Regions from separate parts of the Homo sapiens genome. Here all the other regions are linked to region 1. Evidence: promoter capture Hi-C in 16 types of primary human blood cells and fetal thymus (Javierre and others, 2016). All regions are on one chromosome and are shown on one strand. The core of a region is centred on a gene start or on the middle of the fragment in contact, and the rest is flanking DNA. Distances in the headings are between cores, read along the strand shown.

Evidence for each region. Contacts are between HindIII fragments. The CHiCAGO score rates a contact against its expected background, and 5 or more counts as called.
Region 2: the fragment with the promoter of RBPJL here is called in contact with a fragment that was not itself captured in region 1 in 17 of 17 cell types (naive CD4 T cells, total B cells, total CD8 T cells and 14 more); the score reaches 23.1 in naive CD4 T cells.
Region 3: a contact is called between the fragment with the promoter of SDC4 here and a fragment that was not itself captured in region 1, in 12 of 17 cell types (M0 macrophages, total CD8 T cells, naive CD8 T cells and 9 more). The highest score is 7.4, in M0 macrophages.
Region 4: the fragment with the promoter of PIGT here is called in contact with a fragment that was not itself captured in region 1 in 13 of 17 cell types (M2 macrophages, endothelial precursors, M1 macrophages and 10 more); the score reaches 14.1 in M2 macrophages.

The regions. Positions count from the first base shown.
Region 1 is chr20:45,771,419-45,774,184 of GRCh38, forward strand. No RefSeq gene overlaps it. Among named protein-coding and RNA genes, the nearest start is that of WFDC3, 19 kb to the right of the region's middle. RefSeq lists enhancers at 1-242, 243-835. The HindIII fragment of the contact is 3,130 bases long and covers 1-2,766 here.
Region 2 is chr20:45,305,395-45,308,160 of GRCh38, forward strand. RBPJL (recombination signal binding protein for immunoglobulin kappa J region like) reads left to right here and starts at 1,446. Exons shown (of 12, transcript NM_014276.4): 1 at 1,446-1,550; 2 at 2,749-2,766. The coding sequence starts at 1,529. It overlaps MATN4 (matrilin 4), which reads right to left. Exons shown (of 10, transcript NM_001393530.1): 2 at 116-222. The coding sequence starts at 188. The HindIII fragment of the contact is 8,457 bases long and covers 1-2,087 here.
Region 3 is chr20:45,346,979-45,349,744 of GRCh38, forward strand. SDC4 (syndecan 4) reads right to left here and starts at 1,446. Exons shown (of 5, transcript NM_002999.4): 1 at 1,347-1,446. The coding sequence starts at 1,406. The HindIII fragment of the contact is 6,082 bases long and covers 1-2,766 here.
Region 4 is chr20:45,414,720-45,417,485 of GRCh38, forward strand. It overlaps PIGT (phosphatidylinositol glycan anchor biosynthesis class T), which reads left to right and starts at 1,422. Exons shown (of 12, transcript NM_015937.6): 1 at 1,422-1,624; 2 at 1,798-1,975. The coding sequence starts at 1,438. LOC107985405 (a long non-coding RNA gene) reads right to left here. Exons shown (of 2, transcript XR_001754640.2): 2 at 1-2,098. The HindIII fragment of the contact is 8,427 bases long and covers 1-2,766 here.

The DNA.
Region 1 (2,766 bases), core at 152-2,651:
TGTGGGAAGCTGGGCTTCTCCACACAATCCCTTGAGGAGAAGGCTTAACTTGTATATGAAAGGAAAGACACCTCTCCCAACTCAAGAGCAACCCACTGCCAGGATACGCTCTGGGCCTCCTGCCTTCCTCACCCCACTTACACGCCTTACCAATAACATCATGCCCCCACGGGAGCAGTGGAGGCTGCAGGGGCCCATGGTATTGCTGGGGCCAAGGGCACATATGGAGTCTGAGATTTCTACAACCAGATGGTCAAGAAGCAGGGTGGAGAAGGGAGGAGCTGCGTGGTTCTGGTCAAAGAACAAGTCTTTCTCAGCCTACACTGGAGCCCCAGACATTCCTGCCCACGATGAGGAAGCTGAGGAGCAGGGCGGGGGAGAAGGGTGGCTTTTCAACCTGGTCAGAGGCTAATTTCGGGGTGCAAGGTGAGAGAGTAGGATCACGGTCCACTGAGACCTGCTCCTGGGTCATTTCCACCCCAGGACCAAGGCTGAAATGGACTTAAACCCTGAGGAAGGAAAGGTTCTAATGGCTTCTTTAGTTCAGGGTCCAACAGTAGAGAAAGCTGCCCAGAAAGACCTGGGGGTGGGAATTTGGCCCCAGCTCAGCCTTTAACCGCCAGCTTTCAAATTTAACCCTTCAGCACTCTCTCTCATCTCTATCTCTCTCTCATCTCCATCTCTATCTCTCTATACATCTATCTATCTCTCTATCTCTCTCGACGTTGCTACCTGTAAGCAGGTCAGCAGCTCCCTCTGGAAAGGGTGAGCCTCCAGACGAGGAGGAAAGGTCTGCAAGGAGCAGCTCTCCCATTGCTCAGCCTGAGCTGTGCCTGGGGCTCACACCTGTCTCTCCAGTCCCACTCTCCACCCTGACAGAACATCATTCTGCAATATGAGAGGATTCCCAGACTGTTGTTTTTCATTGAAAGTTCTACCATACTGATGATTTTTTTTTTTTTTTTTTTTTTTGAGATGGAGTTTCGCTCTTGTCGCCCGGGCTGGAGTGCAATGGCAGGATCTCGGCTCACTTGGAACTTCCACCTCCCAGGTTCAAGCAATTCTCCTGCCTCAGCCTCCTGAGTAGCTGGGATTACAGGCGTGCACCACCAAGCCTGGCTAATTTTTGTATTTTTAGTAGAGACGGGGTTTCACCATGTTGGTCAGGCTGGTCTTGAACTCCTGACCTCAAGTGATCTGCCTGCCTTGGCCTCCGAAAATGTTGGGATTACAGGCGTGAGCCACTGCACCCGACCACTGCTGAGTGTCTGTGCCTTCTCCCCCTTGTTTTCATCCTGGCATGTGAAATTCTGGTTTCTACCTGGTTCAGAACATTTATCTCTTTTCAGTACAGTAGACATGTCAATGTTGCCTGATCTGAAAAAGAGTGGCTGGCATGAACCTCGCAGTGGCCAACCCAGAAACATCCATGACTCCAGGATCATGTTGCAGGGAACTGGGAAGGGCCAGTGTCTGTGTGATGGGCTGCTGAACATTTTGGCAGATCCCTCTTCCACTGTTTTATCATTTTGTTGTTTATTTAAAAACTCGAATACATGCACATAGTTTTTTTAAAAATCATTATATCATCACACCACCACACCCGGCTAATTTTTGTATTTTTAGTAGAGACAGGGTTTCTACTAAAACAGTCAAAGGCACAGCTACTCAGAAGGCTGAGGTAAGAGAATTGCTTGAGCCCAGGAGGCGGAGGTTGCAGTGAGCGGAGATCGTGCCACTGCACTCCAGCCTAGGCGACAGAGCAAGATTTCGTCTCAAAAAAAAAAAAAGATAACTAGTTAAATAAATTACCCATTTCATAGAGTTCTATTAAAAGAATATACGTGATGACATGAAAGATCTCCAAGATACACAATATAATCCATTTCATATAAATAAAAAACATAACTTTAAAAAATTATCTTGGTCCCAAGAACCTAGGGATATCCCCTCCCTAAAATAAAGCTACCTGGAGGGGACAAACTGCCTGTCTTGGAGCCAAGGGCTGGCCCTCAAGGAAGGAGGTCCAAGGTGGGAACATTCCAACATCTATAAGAAACTAGCCACTCGGCTGGGCACAGTGGCTGACGCCTGTAATCCCAGCACTTTGGGAGGCCAAGGCAGGCAGATCACCTGAGGTCAGGAGTTCAAGATAAGCCTGGCCATCATGGTGAAACCCCGTCTCTACTAAAAATACAAAAATTAGTCAGGCATGGTAGCGCGCCTGTAGTCCCAGCTACTCGGGAGACTGAGGCAGGAGAATCACTTGAACCTGAGAGGCAGAGGTTGCAGTGAGCCAAGATTGCGCCACTGCACTCCAGCCTGGGCAACAGAGTGAGACTACATCTCAAAAAAAAAAAAAAACTAGCCACTCACCCTTGTTCCACCCTCAACCCACATTCTCCAATAAAAGAAAGAAGGTCAGCAGGTCTAAAAGAGACTGACCTCCACCCCCACCAGGGCTTGAGAAAGACATCTATGGCAAGTCACTCTCAGTTTAGTTTCCACCCTCAACCCACATTCTCCAATAAAAGAAAGAAGGTCAGCAGGTCTAAAAGAGACTGACCTCCACCCCCACCAGGGCTTGAGAAAGACATCTATGGCAAGTCACTCTCAGTTTAGTTTCCACCCATCTCTTCCCTAGCCACACCCAACCAAAACCCATTTTCAGTGTCCTCACAAAGAATGGATTACCCATCTGTCCTAAATATGTAAATCGTACAATCCCACAGGCACACACATACCCTCTAGCTCTCCCATATCATC
Region 2 (2,766 bases), core at 196-2,695, 470 kb before region 1:
TCCCATATGTTCCAAAGCCCTTGCTTCCCTCTCCCCAGCAGGAGGAGCTGGCTGCAGAGGGAGGACCTGCTTCCGCTCCCCTCCTCCCACTGGTGAGGGCTGGGCCCCAGTTCACCTGTCAACTGGAGCTGGGTTTCCCAGGGCTGAAGAAGGAGCAGCAACACGGGCCAGCAAAGAAGGCCTCTCATGGCGCTTGGGGACAGAGAATGGAGGTGTCAGAGCCTGGAGGGAGGAAGGAAAATAGAAAAGCAACAGTATTTACAGAGCTCTTATTCTGGGTGATAGGCACTTGGAGGGGGAAGACAGTTACAGGTTTATTTTACTAATCTCTCTATTTTTGTGTATGTTTGAAATGTTTCAGAATTAAAAAATTCTCATCACAGTGGGATTGCTGGGAAACACAAGAGATTCTTTTTTTTTTTTTTTTTAGATAGAGTCTTGCTCTGTCGTCCCGGCTGGAGTGCAGTGGCATGATCTCGGCTCACTGCAACCTCTGCCTCCCAGGTTCAAGCGATTCTCCGGCCTCAGCCTCCCGAGTAGCTGGGATTACAGGCTCCTGCCACCACACCTGGCTAATTTTTTGTATTTTTAGTAGAGAGCGGGTTTTGCCATGTTGGTCAGGCTGGTCTCAAACTCCTGACCTCAGGTGATCCTCCCACCTCGGCCTCCCAGAATGCTGGGATTACAGGCGTGAGCCACCGCGCTCGGCCCACAAGAGAATGGTAAATAAGAATAGATACATAGATACAAATATGCAAAATTTAAACAGAAAAAAACAGGTCTTCCTTAAATGTCAGGCACAGTGTTAAATGCTCTTCACGCATTGTGGCATTTAATCCTCTCTGCAATTGTAAGACTAAGGCTGTGATTGTCCCCCATCATACAGACAATGAAATTGAGGCTCAGAAAAGTTAAGCGCTGGTACCCAAAGTCATTCGGCCAAAAAGTGGCTGCGGCAGGATACAATCCCACGCCTGCTAGTTTCTGTGAGCCAGCCTGGGCGTTTGGTGCCTCTCCTCCTGCCAGGCGAACCTCTGCAGACAGAAGCCCTTCCCCACCTCGGCCCACTCCCCTACGCACACAGGCTTCTGTGTGGCTGTCTTTGCAACTCGCCAACCCCCCCAGACCCCTCCACACACACAAACACAGACATGCACTGCCCAACCGCAGGCGGCAGGGAGGGGCTGCGCCCTGTTGCGGGGCTGAGCGTGGTGGCGTGGCAGCGAGTGGACCAAAACCCACTGCGCACGAGAACGCGCGGCTTGGCGCCTGTTTCCCGCCTGCTCTCAGGAGCGACCGCCAGGGGGCGCCCGAGATGGCAGGGGGCGTGGGAAGCCCACATCTGCCCAGCAGGTGCGCCCACCCCGAGCAAACAGGGGGCCGGGGCCCGGGGCCTTGGAGATAAGGCCTGGACAGGATATAACCCGCGCAAGAGCCGAGGAGCAGGGGTGTGCAGGGTTCCAGCGACAGCAGCACTGGACTCGTCCAGAGGGCGGCGGGTGAGCGGCTGGGGCCCCGTGGAGCCACCATGGACCCCGCAGGGGCAGCAGGTGAGCGCTTACCCTCCCGAGGCCCCGGAGACGCCCCGTGAGAACTACGAAGGACCACCCCCCCACCCCCTCCCCACTATACAAATAGGAAAACTAAGCCCCAAGGAGGCAGCCCGCCGAACTGCAAAAGCAGGATTAGAACCTAGGGCTCCTGGTTCCCCTTCTCTCTCTTGAGGCCCCCTGGCGCCTAGAATTCACTAAACCTCATTTCCTTCCAGCTCCTACCCCACCGCCGCGCCCCATGCTGAAGCTGTGTTAGCCATTTTTCTGTTGCTGTTTCTTGGCAGAGAGGGCCAGCTGCCCCTAACCCAACAGCAGCTCCGCCCCCGCCCCCCAATTCCGTGAATGCGCCTATTCTGAGCGAGGCCAGTGCCTGCTTCTCACTCCAGGCGACCTTCTCATCCCGGATTCTTCTCCCTTTTCCCCTCCCAGGCCTGGTAGAAGAACATAAATCCTCTGGCAGGGCCCGTCGTGGGAGGGTGACCAAGCAAGATGTGGCAGCGCTGGTGGAAGTGGGAGGGCGGGGAACCCTTGTCAAGCTTGGGCCACAGGCAAAGCCAACATCCCTGGACAGCATGAGGGCTAAGGCACAAGGGGCCTCTGCCACCTCCCATACTTTCCTACCCGGAGATGCCTCTGGGCCCCTAAATCTTGGTTAAGGTTCCCCTCATCCCATTCTTGGTCTGAGCCAACTTCTCACCTGGCACCCTGCCTCCACCCCAGGAATCCTAGAAAGTCAAAATAGCAAATGCCTCAAAGTTCATCACCTTTCCAAACCCCTCATTCTACAAAGAAAGGAACTAGGTCCAGAGAGGGTAGTGTCTTGCTGAAGGGTACATGGCGATGTCGTGGCAGGACTGATACTAGAACCTGGGATTCCTCTGAGGAGTTAATCCTTGCATTAAAAAAAGAAAGATTCAGAGATGCCCTGAGGTGAGGTTGAGGGAGTGGAGCAGCAAGGGAGGAGAGGCCTGTAAATAAATTCTCAAAAGTCCCTTAGGGACATTTCAGGGGGTTCCTGGAGGGATGAGAGTAGAAAAGGGATGATCCTATTTTGATGGCTTTGAGGGTGGGGGCTCGATTTGGAAAGGACCCTGCAGAAGTGGGGAAGGGCACTGCAAATCAGATAGGGCACCCTAGGCAGCGTCTCTGCTAAAATACACTCGCCTGACCTGGCTTGATGCCTACTCCCCTGCAGACCCCTCAGTGCCTCCCA
Region 3 (2,766 bases), core at 196-2,695, 420 kb before region 1:
TTACTTAACCTCTCTAGCCTCAGGACCAGTTTAAGAACAGTACACAGTAAGATTGTTGTTGGAATTAAGCTCCTGGATATACCCATTAGAAAGTTATTAGAGCAATGTCTGGCCCCCCGACAAAGGCGCTCCACGTTTGCAATCATCATGGCATGCCTGGAATTGTGCTGGAAGTATTGCCTAGGGTCTCATTCATTCCTCAAGAAGAGCCTGCAGGCAGAATCAACCTTCCGCTAAGTAAATTCAGAGGAACAGGAGCCCCAAGGCTTTCAAAGAAATTAACATTAATGGTTAAACTGCAAGGACTCACTCGCTCTGAAAACTGGGGCTAAAGGGCACAAAGGGGGCACAAAGCTCAGGCTGTGGGGGACAGATTGCCTTCACCAGTAATTCCCATGCCCCCCAACTTCCCAGATGAGATTGCCCCCCTCCTCCTAAGCCGGCTGCGGGCATGGATAGAGCTTCTGCTGGCCCAGGGACAGCTATGACGGAGGCCAGTGGACAGTGAGAAGGAAAGGTTTCCCTGGGCTGATTGAGGCCTTCTCTCCCCCCTACCCCCTTCACCTCACTCAAGGTGGATGCTTCAATTTTCTTATCTGCAATTGAGAAAAAATGAACACACTTCTTGCAGAAAGCAGAGGCTCAGCTCCTGGCTAAGTGTTGAGTCTAAACCATTCCTCTCCTCTGTCCTCGAAAAGAGCAGAGTCCCCAACTTTCTAGAAACCCTAACGCAGTGTCCCCTCTTGCCCCATTCCCTCAGACCCTTGGTGCAGTATTGGGAAGAGATTCAGAAGGGCAGGACTTTGCCCTAAGTCACAAGTCAATGACAGAGCTGGGGCCAGAACTGAGGTTAGGGCTCAGTTCTCCTTGGTGTGTGAAAGAGGGCCTCGCACAACCCTAAAACCCTCCCCCTTCCGAGTACACGCAGCCCCCCGACCCCCAGGGCCATCTCGGATCCTAAAGCTGTCTGCTCTGGGCGCCCCGAGAGCGAGGAGGGGATTCAGCGCTCCAAGCCTGCCCCAGGGTCACCAGGGAAGGGACGAGGGTGTGGGAGTTGAAGAGTTGACACCGGCTTAGTCACTAACGAGCCCGTAGCCCGCGGCGGGGCTGAGGCCCGGGGAGGCGGGAAGAGCAACAGGCGAGGGGCGCACGGCGCGTGAAGCCATCCCGGAGGCTGGCCCGTGACCCCGGAGCAAAGTTTCCAACAAAGTTTCCCGGGCCTCGGTGTCCGGTTGGGGGTAGCGTACCCCCGATCTGCCCCCCCCCATCCCACGCTCCGACGAACAAAGGAGGCACCGGCCTGCGCCCCCGCTTCGCCCCCAGCCCGGGAACCTCCAAGCACCCACCGACTCGGCGACTCCGCCTACGAAGAACAGCAGCAGCGCGAACAGACGGGCGGGGGCCATGGCACCGCGGACTGGAGAAGGCGCGCAGGCTGCGGCGAGTGGCCCCGGGCGGGCGCGCCACCCATCTTATAGGCGGCCTACCGGCCCCGCCCCGGCCCGCCCCCGCCCCGCCGCCCGCACCCCGCCCGGAATTCCCCAGTGGAAGCGAGGCCTGCGGGGCACTGCGCCCGCCCGCGGAGTTGGAAACCCCAAGGGACCCGCCCTGCCCGAGCCCGCCGGCTCCTACTCAACCCCTAGTCCTACCCTCCGGGAGCTCCAACTCCCTTTATTTATTTGACCCACTGCCAGGCAGGTCCCCAGAGATCACTGCGGCTAACCCCATTTTATAGTTGGGGAAACTAAGGCCCAGGGACGGGAAGGACTTCCCTAGGGTGTTGAGTTTAGACCAGCCTTCATACCGGGTGTGCTCCCCTCTGAAGACACAGAACTTCCCAAATGGGATGTGAACCGTGTTAAGACAGGGGACAGCAAACTATTCTGTAAAGGGCTAAATATTTTAGGTTTTGCGGGCCATACGATCCCTGTGGCAACTATTCAAACTCGAGCGTCGTAGCTCAAAAGCAGCCATAAATACTAAAGGAATGAGGGCAGCTAGGTCCTAATAAAACATTATTTATAGACACCGACATTTGAATTTAATATAATTTTCATGTGTCACGAAATATTATTATTCTTTTGACTTTATTCCCAACCATTTAAACATGCAAAAATCGGCTGGGCTCTATGGCTCACGCCTGTAATCCCAGCACTTTGGGAGGCCGAGGAATAGGAGGATCCCTTGAGCCCAGGAATTGGAGACCAGCCTGGGCAACCATAATGAGACCCCCATCTCTACAAAAAGTTTTTAAAGAAATTAACCAGGCATTGTGGTGCACCCCTGTGGCCCAGCTACTCTGGAGGCTGAGGTGGGAGGACTGCTTGAGCCAGAGAGGTGAAAGTTGCAGTGAGCCATGATCGCTCACTGCACTCCAGCCTGGGTGACCGAGTGAGACCCTGTCTCAAAAATAAATAAATAAATAAATAAATAAATAAATAAATAAATAAATGACATTTTATAATAAAAATGCAGGCCGGATGCAGTGAGTCATGCCTGTAATCCCAGCACTTTGGGAGGCTGAGGCGGCGGATCACTTGAGCTCAGGAGTTTGAGACCAGCCTGGCCAACATGCTGAAACCCCGTCTCTACAAAATACAAAAATTATCCAGGCATGGTTGCCTGCGCCTGTAATCCCAACTGCTCTGGAGGCTGAGGCAGGAGAATCGTTTGAACCCGAGGGGCGGAGGTTGCAGTGAACTGAGATCTCCCCACTGCACTCCAGCCTGGGCAACAGAGCAAAACTCCGTCTCAAAAAAATAAAAA
Region 4 (2,766 bases), core at 172-2,671, 360 kb before region 1:
ATGCTTAACATTTTTAGTTACCAGGGAAATGCAAATTAAAACCACAATGAGCAAACACTACATACATACCCAAGTGGTCAAAACTAAAAAGTACAAAAAATTAGAAACTTCAAATGCTGACCAGGATGTGGTACAATGGAGACTCATAGTTTATGGAAACATAAAATGATACATTTTGGAGAAAGGTCTGACAGTTTCTTATAAAATTAAACATACACCTGCTCTCTGACCCAGCAATTCCACTCTTAAATACCTGGCCAAAGGATATGAGAAATATACGTCTACAAAGGAGCTTGCACAGACAGCAGCCTTGTTAATAATAACCAAAAACTTTAAAAGTGCCCATCAAGAGTTGAATGGATAAATTAATAATACTACGCAGTAATAAAAAGAATTGTGGATACATGCAAGAACATGGATGATTCTCAAAAACATTCTTCCCATGAGAAAAAAAAAAGCCTTACACAGTATACATACTATATGATTTCATTTATATTTAGTTCTGGAACAGATTAATCTATTGTGGGAAAAAATCAGGGTACTAACTGCCTCTGGAAGGTGATAGAGGAGCAGGGATTGACTAGGAAAGGGTATTGCTAATTTTCTGGGGTTTTAGGAATGTTCTGTATCATGATAGGAGTTCGGGTTACATAGGTGTGTGCATTTGTCAAAACTCAGTGAATGTGTACTTTGGATTTGTGCATTTCACTGTATGTGAATTTTACATCAAAATGCAATCGAATACTGAACTCTAGTTAATTATATGCATGCTTAACTACTTAAAGGAAAGTGTACTAATGTCTGCAATTTACTTTGAAGTGCACCAAAACACAAGATGGAATGATGGATGTATAGACAAATATGTGGTAAAGTACAAGTATAGTATAATGTAAATAGTAGAATCTAGGTGGTGGAAAATAGGTTTATTGTAACAGGTGCTCATTCTTTCAATTTTGTTTGAACATTTTCGTAATAAAAGAACCACTTATTTGGGGGTTTTGCAGCAAATGGAGACACTAGAAGCTAAGAGGGGCAGGAGGTTCCTCTTACTTTGGGAAATGCAAATTAAAACCACAATGGTTTTCCCAAAAGTAATTGATCTTTTTCAGTCAATGTTTCCTCAACTATCAAATGGGTAAAATGGCAGTGAAGGAGCTTCATATTATTAAGCATTTCCTGGTGGGTGGAATACGCCATGAACTAGGTGCGGCCTCAAGCTGGTTACTCGCCCTGCCTACTCCCTCTCGTGTCCTCCCAGTACCCCCTTAGACCCACCAGCTCTGAGGGAATCTTCGCGACCTGCGCAGGCGGTCGCTCTGATAACCGCATCCCGGTTTCCGGGACGACAGCGGAAGTCACTTCTCACACGCCTTTCTTATTGGATACCGGCTTTTCATGGGGCCGAGCGCCGCTGGGTAGGCGGAAGTAGCCGCAGGCATGGCGGCGGCTATGCCGCTTGCTCTGCTCGTCCTGTTGCTCCTGGGGCCCGGCGGCTGGTGCCTTGCAGAACCCCCACGCGACAGCCTGCGGGAGGAACTTGTCATCACCCCGCTGCCTTCCGGGGACGTAGCCGCCACATTCCAGTTCCGCACGCGCTGGGATTCGGAGCTTCAGCGGGAAGGAGGTGAGGGCGCGAGATCTGACCAGGGAAAGATTTCCGTAGTGCCTGCTGGCTGGCCGGCCGTGGGATGAAGGCAAACTTTGGGGGCGGGGCCTAATTCCTGGGTAGAGTTCGGGATCCTGGGTGTGGACCCCGACGAGGTGGGGATCGTCACTCACCTGCTCCCGTTTCCCCAGTGTCCCATTACAGGCTCTTTCCCAAAGCCCTGGGGCAGCTGATCTCCAAGTATTCTCTACGGGAGCTGCACCTGTCATTCACACAAGGCTTTTGGAGGACCCGATACTGGGGGCCACCCTTCCTGCAGGCCCCATCAGGTGCAGAGCTGTGGGTCTGGTTCCAAGACACTGTCACTGAGTGAGTGCACACCTTGGGCCCTGTTGCAGGCCATGGAGGGAATGTGGCTGGGAGAGTGTTGTCATCCTGCCACTGCTCTTGGGGACAGCACTTCCAGTAGGCAGCGATTCCATGGGGGTAGAGCTGGCATTGGAAGTAAGAAATGTTACCACAGATGAATAAACTTCCCAATCCTAAAACTTTCAGACCTGAGGTAGCACATGCATATCCCTGGAGAGGCAAATAGCAAACAATTAATGCTTATTTGGAGGTAAGGCAGTAGAAAACTGGCAACTGGATAACCTTTTAAAAGGCATTCATTAATATTTTTTAAATGATAATAAATACCACGAAAGCCAACCATAACATATCTGTGGGTTACAACTGGCCAACAGGATGCTACATCACAGTGTTAGAGGAACTGCTTTTGTTTGGGAGGGGGCAGGTCTAGTTACTGTGCCTACTACAAACCGCTATTTCCCAGTGGCTGCTGTGGCTATCCTGTTTAGAATAGAACCTTTCTGTGCAGTGGTTGCAAACAGGTCTACATGGGCCACACAGGTAAGGAATGAATAAAGGTATTTTTAAAATTGACAAACACAGGAATGAGAAATATATCTCATTTTCCTCTTAATCCCACTATAAGAAATCAATAGTGCAAGTATGATATAACAAGTTTTAGGGCAATAAAAAGGAGCAGCAGGAATTGTGGCAGGCTAGAGAGTTTGTGTGACATTCTAACGAGGACAGCTCTGCCACTCAGCTTCTATGGATTGTTGCCATGTGGGAATAGAGGCCTAATGTGGTCAGAG